Linked DNA regions of Homo sapiens: all the other regions are linked to region 1. The links are contacts of gene promoters, found by promoter capture Hi-C in human tissues and cell types (Jung and others, 2019). All regions are on one chromosome and are shown on one strand. Each heading gives the region's core, a stretch centred on a gene start or on the middle of the fragment in contact. The rest is flanking DNA. Distances are from core to core; before and after follow the strand shown. Region 1 holds the start of TMEM30B (transmembrane protein 30B). Region 2 overlaps DHRS7 (dehydrogenase/reductase 7). Region 3 overlaps PPM1A (protein phosphatase, Mg2+/Mn2+ dependent 1A).

Region 1 (2,833 bases), core at 96-2,595:
TAGGCGAGGTTGGAATTGGGTGACGGGCGAGGAGGAGATGCCAAAAGCACCTTGCAAGAGTTTTGGCAAGAAGCAGGAGGGATCCCTGGAAAGCCGGAATCACTCCTCGTCGTCGTCGTCCTGGTCCTGGTAGCGAATGTAGACGACCAGCATGACAAAGCCGGTGAGGATGCAGAGGGAGCCGACGACCAGGTAGGCGATGCCCAGGAAGGGGTTCTTGCCACCCATCCACGAGATGCTGCTGAAGATGAGGAGCTTGTGGCCGCCGAACGCGCGCACCGGGTAGTTGTAGGTGATGTTGACGCGGTAGGCGCCCCGCGGCAGCCCGGCCGAGTAGTTGCCCTGGCGGATGCGCGCGTACAGTTTGCGGAACGTGGGCAGCGCCGCCGTGCGCATCCACACCACGAAGTCCTGATTGATGAAGCCGGTGTTGTTGGGGTCGGGGCTGAGCTCGTAGACTGGCCGGCGCCAGTTGGGCGGGGGCGCCGTGCCCTGGAAGGCCAACGCCAGGCTGCCGTTGACCAGCGGCGGGTTGCGGAACTTGACGTGGTAGTCGGTCCACCAGGCGATGCCGGAGCGGTCGAGCGGCACCTCGACGTAGGGCCCGCCGGGCTGGCGCTGGTGCCAAAGCGAGAAGGAGTCGTTGAAGAGGCTGTTGGCGATGGCGCCGCAGGGCGCGATGGGCAGGCCGGCCGCGCTGCGCTGGTAGGGGGCGCACTCGTTGACAGGGTGGCGCAGCGCGCTGGGGAGTCCGCTCAGCTGCGCGTCGTCGCGGGACACGCCGTAGCGCCGGTTGTTCTGGTAGAAGTTGGTCAGCTCGTAGTAGAGGTACACTGGGCCCTGGAAGAGCTCGGGCAGCGAGAAGTACCAGGCGCACGAGCAGGGGGGCGGCAGCGCCCGGCCCTGGCCAGCCGCGGCGCACACCGAGCAGTTACCGGTGCCCGGGTCGCCTGTATAGTCGTACTCCAGCTCCTTGATGCCGTTGGAGGAGTAGTAGAGGCCCAGGCCCAGGCCGATGAAGGCCAGGCCCGCGCAGAAGAAGAGCGGCAGCGCGATGCTGGCCGACAGCAGCGGCTGCCAGGCGGGGAGGCGCTGCTGAGTGAAGGCGGTGTTGTCGGGCTGGTGGGCGCCCCGGGCCGTGGCGCTCCAGGTCATGGCGGCCGCGCGGGGACCGACGCGCGGGCTGACCGAGTGGGGGCCCCGCCGCGGGGCGCCTCCCTCTCCGCGCCGCGCAAGCCCGGGGACTGCTCGCGGGTCGGGTTTCCCGCCAGCTCAGGTGGGTTTTTGCCCGGGCCCCTCCTCTGCCTCCGTCACAGGTGAGTTTAGTTCCAGGCCCTACGAGCAGTGCCCACACCCTCCCAGTTCCGCCTCCGCCCAGGTGCGCTGCACCCCCGCGGGTCACCGGGAGCCGCACCTCGCCCGCCCCTTCCGAGGTGAGCAGGTGGGTGTTTTTTACCTCACCTGGTAGACTCAGTCTCGCGTTTCCTCTCAGTCCAGGTCATCGGACTCCACCTCCTCTCCTAGGTGAGTGGCGGCCCCGGGCTGCCTCTGAGTGGCTCCTACCTGGCTCAGGTACCACCTTCTCTTCCGCCTTCCAAGTGACTAGAGTTCCTGGGCCAGTCTCCCGAAATCAAAAGGCGCTCCGGCCTCCAGCAGAAATTTTTGCTGAGGGCTTGCACCGTGGTCCTGGAGGCTTGAAGATTTCAGATCCTTAATCCTCTGTTATTTGCGGGGAAAAGGTGGCTCTAGACCATTTTGTCTTTTAGGTTAGCTTCACAAACCGCTTTCGCCCAGCTTTCAGTCTCAAGTTGGGAGTGTCCAGGGAATTACGTTATGATAAATCTGTTTCGAATTCAACGCCTGCGTTCAAATTTTAGCTTTTTTTTTTTTTTTTTTTTTTTTTTTTTTTAAGGGAAAATGATTTTCTGGCCAGATCACCCAGTCTGGCTGTATAACTAGGAAATGTGGAAAGTTCTCTAAAAATAAAATCATCCTTAAAAAGAATCAAAGGCTGGAGAGGTTCAGAGCCTTTAAATAACTCTTAGCTGGTGTGGAGAAACCAAGAAAGGAAAAAATGTGCTGGACTACATGTGATTTCGTTTTCTTTTCAGATTATTTGCCTGACTAGAGAAAGGCCCAATCCAAGGTCCCAGGAGACCTAGCTGCTATCCACAAAAACATCTGGAGTGTCTGGCCTAAGGAAGTAAACTACAAGGATTTATAGGATTTATTATAAAAAGAACTCAAATTAGCTCCCTATGTTGCCTGGGATTCTGGCTTTTTTTTTTTTTTTTTTAAATCTAGGTTGGTAAAACATATACAAGGGGGTATTGGGACGTTCTGATTTCTTACTAAATCTAAATCTTCCCTAGGTATTGTGTTCTTGCTTCTCCTCCAGCTTGTAAAATGCAAGTAATACAAATGTTTTCTCTATTACACTACACCTAGCATAATATATTATATTCAGGAGTCATTCAAAACCCATTGAACTTGGAAAGTTAAAATCCTTATTAAATTTAACAGAGGAATGTTGTTAGCATCTTCCAAGTGTTCAGTCCTATGCTAATTAGACAAAAAAGGACCTTTGACCTCAAGGCATTTGCAGTTTGATAGGGGACATATTAGGAGTAAGAAACAATCAAAATAGCCAATAATAGCTATGAATCATAGGGTGTAATCAAGTATCAAATTGCATTCTACAAGTCACATTAAAATTAAAAAGTAATATTGATTTAATAATGGAACATTGATTCCAGTTTGTTAAATGAATGCAAGTTGGAAACCAGGTATTATAGAAGACTGAGGGAAATTCAAGTGACTTGAATTTCAATTC
Region 2 (2,833 bases), core at 334-2,833, 1.1 Mb before region 1:
GACGGATACAGAGGAGGCAGGAAATGGTGGCTGCCTCGAGAGAAGCACACTAGGTAGCTAGGGCACAAGGGTCAGAGAAAGCTCTTTACTTTTTACTATATATCTTTTTGTATTTTTACTTTTGTATTATGTGAGTGTGCTATTTTTTTAAGTGACAAAAAATAATAAACCTACAGAGAAGTCAAGAAGGATTTTTTTTTCTTTTTTCATCTTGATAGAGTCTGCCCATCTCTCCAGTCTGAGCTGTTTTGGGAATCTGAGTCTATTTCAATTTTCCTTTAATCTTTTCTTCTTTCTCACTCCCTACCTCCACCAGGAGTCTTTTTAGACTTTTTTTTCCCCTAAAACTCTCCTGTGAAATGTTAATTCCACAGATATACTGTATATCATTTATGTACTGTACATATATCTGTGCTTTATACATAAAAGGAGTTCTATAAAGTTTACTCCTGCCAGGCGCAGTGGCTAATGCCTGTAATCCCAACACTTTGGGAGGCAGAGCGGGGTGGATCACCTGAGGTCAGGGGTTTGAGACTAGCCTGGCCAACATGGCGAAACCCCAGGTCTACTAAAAATACAAAACTTACCCATGCGTGGTGGCACGCACCTGTAATCCCAGCTACTAGGGAGGCTGAAGCAGGAGAATCACTTGAACCCAGGAGATAGAGGTTGCAGTGAGCCAAGATCATACCACTGCACTCCAGCCTGGCCAACAGAGCGAGACTCTGTCTCAAAAAAAAAAAGAAAAAGAAAAAAAGCTTACTCCTTAGTTAATAAGCATATGACTAAATAAGCATATGACTAAATTTTAAAATTAAGTTAAATGTTAAATTAAAATTTAAAAGTTATTAACTTCTAACTTTATAACTGTATTTGCTGAAAAACATTTTTATGGTTTTTGAGACAGTGTCTCACTATGCTGCCCAGGCTGGTCTTGAACTCCTGGGCTCAAATGACCCTCCTACCTTAGCCTCCAGAGTAGTTGGGATTGCAGGTACATGCCACCACGCCAGATTTTTGCTGAATAACTTTTATGTAACTTACTTAGATAAATAGCAATTTATCAAACTACATGTGCAAATTTGCAAATTATATAACTACATAATGATAACAATGTAATTAAATTTAAAATCCTTCAAACTGTTCTTTTCCGACAAAACACAACTGAAAATATTAAATGAATTTCTTAAAATTTTCAATGATCTTAACTTTTAACTTTTCCTTAATATGAGAAAATAACTTTTAACTTAGTAGCTTAGAGATATTCATTCAGATGTTGTCAATAATTTTGCTTTTTAGCACTTGACATAATTTGATGGGTTGAATATTTTTTGTAGGATTAAATAATAAAATATAATCTATTTTCGTTTAATTCTCCAAGTCCAAGTGAACACAAAAGCACTAAAGATCAAACACAAACAACGTCTGCAAGGCAGCCAATGGCAGCCAATAGGCACACATATTCCCCCGCTGAGGTGGAACAATCGATCAAGAGAAAGCCCTTGGTTAATGAAGTTGTGCAGTATTTGGGATTCCTGCTTTAAAAGGAGAAAGCCCAATCACTTGCCATAGTTTTGTAGCACTGCTGTGGCGTCCATGTTGTGTATTTTTCGTGAACTCAATGTCAGTGCTGCACATGCTATACCCAAGAAAACCCAACCAGAAAAATGAAATACTAAGGAATAATATTTTCTCGGGTGGGGTTAAGCTTTGGAGGGGCACAAACCACTGTATTACCAGATTTTTTTTTTTTTTTTTTTTTGTCCACAGGAACCAATTCTCACCTTGGGATCAATATCACCCCCCTCAACGCCCAACCCATAACGCCCCCCCCAAACATAGTCTATCTTTCGAGCTACTATCTCTTCCAAGCAAACTTTGTAACATGCTTTGAGTATTTTTATACCAGAAACTTGGTCCAGGGAAACCCCATTTCCCCAAGTCCTTAAGGATCCAAAGCCTAGCTTTCGGTAGGTCATTTAATTTCTCTGAACATCAGTTTCCCTATCTGGAAAATAAGATTAATAATGCCTACCTTGTAAGAGTTGTTGTAAAAGTTAAATGTTATGTGTGTAAAGCGCTGAGCCAACATACAGCAAATGTACACGATGTCAAATATTAAGCAAGACACAGATAAAGTGAGATAGGCAGTATGCCAATAATGATCTCGCTCCAGCAAACTGCCATTTTTAGTTCTTTCTAGTGTTTGACTAGAATGAGTAAGTAGGTGAAGGACTTCGGATTATCTCAGATTTTATTTCAAAACTGCAGGAGTGGGAAGTGGAGGACAGACTACTTCAGGTAGTAGAACGACCGGGCTTCCGGTACTTACAAAGGAGTTTCCCTTACAAACGCAGGGGGACGCTCACTGTTTCTCAAAGTATCGTCCTCTGAGACAACACCAGAATCCCTTGAGTCCTGCGTAAGATGTCAGAGTCCTCAGGAGCACCGCCGACTCCAGTGCTCTCTTAACAGTTTGGCACTCCCTGGAGAGGTTTCCTAGCCTGAATGGCAAGTCCATGCCATCTTCCGACCAGTACAGAAGACAAAGGGGCTTTTTAGCCCTCGCCTCTTCCTCCCCAACCCGCAGCCCCTGCGTAAGGGGCAGCCGGGCCTTCGGGAAGCTCCACGCAACCCACAAAGGACCCGGGATCACTGCAGAACCCCCGGAGACCCGGACACGCCTCGGCAGCTCCGAGCCCGGCCTCCCACTCGGGAGAGGCTTTGGCCGGTCCTCACCTGGGCGTCGTCCCTGCCACTCGGCCCATAGTAGCGTCAGGTCGCCGTCAGCCCTCAGGAAGCGCAGCAGCTGCACCAAGAGCAGGAGCAGCGC
Region 3 (2,833 bases), core at 241-2,740, 1.0 Mb before region 1:
GTGTATACTAAGTTTGAAAAGTATATTATCATATGTTAGCTCCCTTTAGAAATTTTCCCCAAGAAGAGCTATTACATTTTTTAATATTAAAAAAGCATAAGATATGGCCATAATACAATTAGTTCCACAAGCCATACACACTTTTTTCTTATGGCTTAAAATTTTATTCATGTTTACTACTTTGCAACCCACTGATATAAATTATTTCACAGATCCTTTATTCAAATGAAATTCTCAGTGAGTCTGAGAAGATAGTCTTAAACACAAGCTAGCTGAGTTTACAATAGAGATTATACTATAAATGGTAACTTCAATGTTTATTGAAAATAAATTCCTTAAAAACAGGTCTTGTTTCATTCATTTAAAGAGATTATCAATATATGACTGTTAAATTTTTATAGTCTCCCTGTTCATTTTCTGATGAACACATGACAGAAAATTGAATGTGAGCTGGAAATACAGCAGACTATGAGAAAGCATGGGTCATGTATAATCACTTTAAATTTAGGCTGGTGTTTTGTATTCATCTATAATATGACCACCTCAGGGAGGGATGTAAGTAAACATTCTTTTTTTAGTTATACTTTAGGTGGCTTAATTATTTTAAAGAATATGTTATTCAAGAATTGTCTATTGTACTGTTTTAAAGAATAAGAATATAATTCATTACCAACTTTGAATGTCTTGGATTCTTAGTACTACCTTTTTCTTTATCATGACTAGTAGGATCACATCATAATTTGGTACTGTGTGTATAAAGATGAAGTGTGCTTACCTTTATTACCAAAATTCAGAAATGAAAATGTGAATGATAAAAGATAAGGGATGGCTATATATTTTTTTGTTTTTGTTTTTCCAAACAGAATCTCATAACTTACCAGGCTTTAGAAAAACATCTTTGCAGTATGCCATCATACCTCAGAATGTTAAGTAGATAGGAAATAAAATTTTCACTTTTTGTAAAGCAGTAGGGTATTATCCTTTCTGACAGCCTGTAAGACTGTTTTGGTTGCCAAGGGGCCAATCTTAGAAGTGGCAGTTTTTGTTTTGTGACCAACCCACAGCTTACCCTTTGTTAGTCCATATCTGTCATCTTCATTTTCTCTTTCTGCGTAAATGCTTCTTGATACAGTAAGCAGGTGTTTCAACTAGTCAGCCATCTAGTGTGATCTTTTCTGGTTTGCTACAGTCAGTAAAATAAGTAGCTCTATAAGTGTAAATAGTATTACTTGTTTTATGTAGTAAAACTCCAAGATTAAGTTAGAGATATTTTTGGCTAGACTACATTGAATGCATTGACAATGGATTTCCCAGCTCCCAGAAATTCGTTTGTGTCTGAATTACTTTATACTTGGCTTATTGTGTAGAGAAAACTTTAGAAAAAGTTCATCCATCCATGAATGTTGAATGAATGAGCAGATTAATAAATAAATAGCTCAGGGAAAGAAAATGTGTGGGCTTTTAGTCATAACTATGTTTTTTCTCTTTTGTTCCCTTCCTTATGTGCCATTTTTCAATAATGGGAGTGTGTATCTAATGATGTTGATAAACTTTTTAAAGTCATTGATGAACAGTAATCTGAAAATCAAGTTTTGATTAAGCCGTAGATTTCTTTTAGGGTCCAATATTTTCTTTTTAGAAATCCACTATGATATTTTTGTAGGGATAAAAGACAACCATGTATTCTATAGATGGAAAATGGTAGGATACAGTTTGTTGGCCGGCCAACTTCTCTGAAAATACTTTTTCCTGCATAGAAGATAATCAGTGTTGACAAGGGAGAAGCCAAGGTATAATGGCTGTTATTCATCTGTCTCATGTATTCGTCAAGTGTCATGTGTTAAATATGAACAAAAAAGACATAATCTCTTTCCTCCTGGATCTTAAAATCTAAAGTGAGAGATAATTCACCAGATAAATGCTGCGATAAGGGAAATAGAGGATTCTATGAGCTTATGACTAAGGATAGATCTGTTTCCTCAGATGTGGAACTAAGAAGTGGCAGTAGTTGAGAAGTTCATTTTGGGCCATGCGATTTGAGGTGTGGCTATTCAAGTATAGGAGGTAGGTGGTTACACATTTTTTAAGCTATTAAATAGAACTTTCACTTGAAAAGGTTTTTTTCTCTCTTTCCTCAGCATCTATCTCCCTACATACACAAAAAAATTGCATGTCACAATTCATGAACTCAGTGAGTGACTCTATTTTGAAAAATGTTAGATTATATCAACTGAAGTCTGTTAGAGGCAAATGCTTTTGGTCATTTTTTTCAGCAGGGACATTTCATATGTGTAAAATATTTAGAATCCCCATGTATTTATATATAAATGAATCTTTTACCATCTTAAATGTTTAATAAGTTATATTTTTCCTTTCTTTCAACTTAAGTATACAAGGTTATCAGCAAACATTTGTAGATGCTCTATGTGAGGTGTTTTGTTTATTAGTTTTAAGGAAGAGAAAAAAGGATGGATTGGATCAGGAAGTCAGTTATTGTTTTCTGGGTTAGTTTGAGTCCAAATCCTCAAATATGCGGCGATTTATAAGTAGCAAACTAGGAATTTAATCCACTTCAGTTTTGGATAACTTGGATAAGACACTTTCTGTCTATAGATCTGTCTATAGATAACTTGGATAAGACAAGTTATCCAAAACTGATAAATCTGAATTAGTTAACAGATGAGGCAAATTGAGATTGTAAATGCTAAAAGATTATTAGAAAACTTTATAAACTAAATAGTTCTATGCCATGTCTTTTTAGTATTTTGCTTGTACTATAATTGTAGTGAAAATAGGTCAGTATCTAATTTTTATAGTCACTAGAGCTCTCCAA

What was found. Contacts are between HindIII fragments. The study calls those that stand out against the background at their distance.
Region 2: a contact is called between a fragment that was not itself captured here and the fragment with the promoter of TMEM30B in region 1, in 2 of the 25 tissues and cell types used here (aorta and bladder).
Region 3: a contact is called between a fragment that was not itself captured here and the fragment with the promoter of TMEM30B in region 1, in 1 of the 25 tissues and cell types used here (thymus).

What each region holds. Positions count from the first base shown.
Region 1 is chr14:61,279,993-61,282,825 of GRCh38, forward strand. TMEM30B (transmembrane protein 30B) reads right to left here and starts at 1,346. Exons shown (of 1, transcript NM_001017970.3): 1 at 1-1,346. The coding sequence starts at 1,155. The coding sequence ends at 100. It also overlaps a transcript of PRKCH not described here. RefSeq lists an enhancer at 1-771. The HindIII fragment of the contact is 14,970 bases long and covers 1-2,833 here.
Region 2 is chr14:60,162,438-60,165,270 of GRCh38, forward strand. It overlaps DHRS7 (dehydrogenase/reductase 7), which reads right to left. Exons shown (of 7, transcript NM_016029.4): 1 at 2,740-2,833. Among named protein-coding and RNA genes, the nearest start is that of DHRS7, 1.5 kb to the right of the region's middle. RefSeq lists enhancers at 2,425-2,484, 2,675-2,724. The HindIII fragment of the contact is 4,419 bases long and covers 1-2,833 here.
Region 3 is chr14:60,256,981-60,259,813 of GRCh38, forward strand. All of the region lies in intron 1 of PPM1A (protein phosphatase, Mg2+/Mn2+ dependent 1A), which reads left to right. Among named protein-coding and RNA genes, the nearest start is that of PPM1A, 9.2 kb to the left of the region's middle. The HindIII fragment of the contact is 8,153 bases long and covers 1-2,833 here.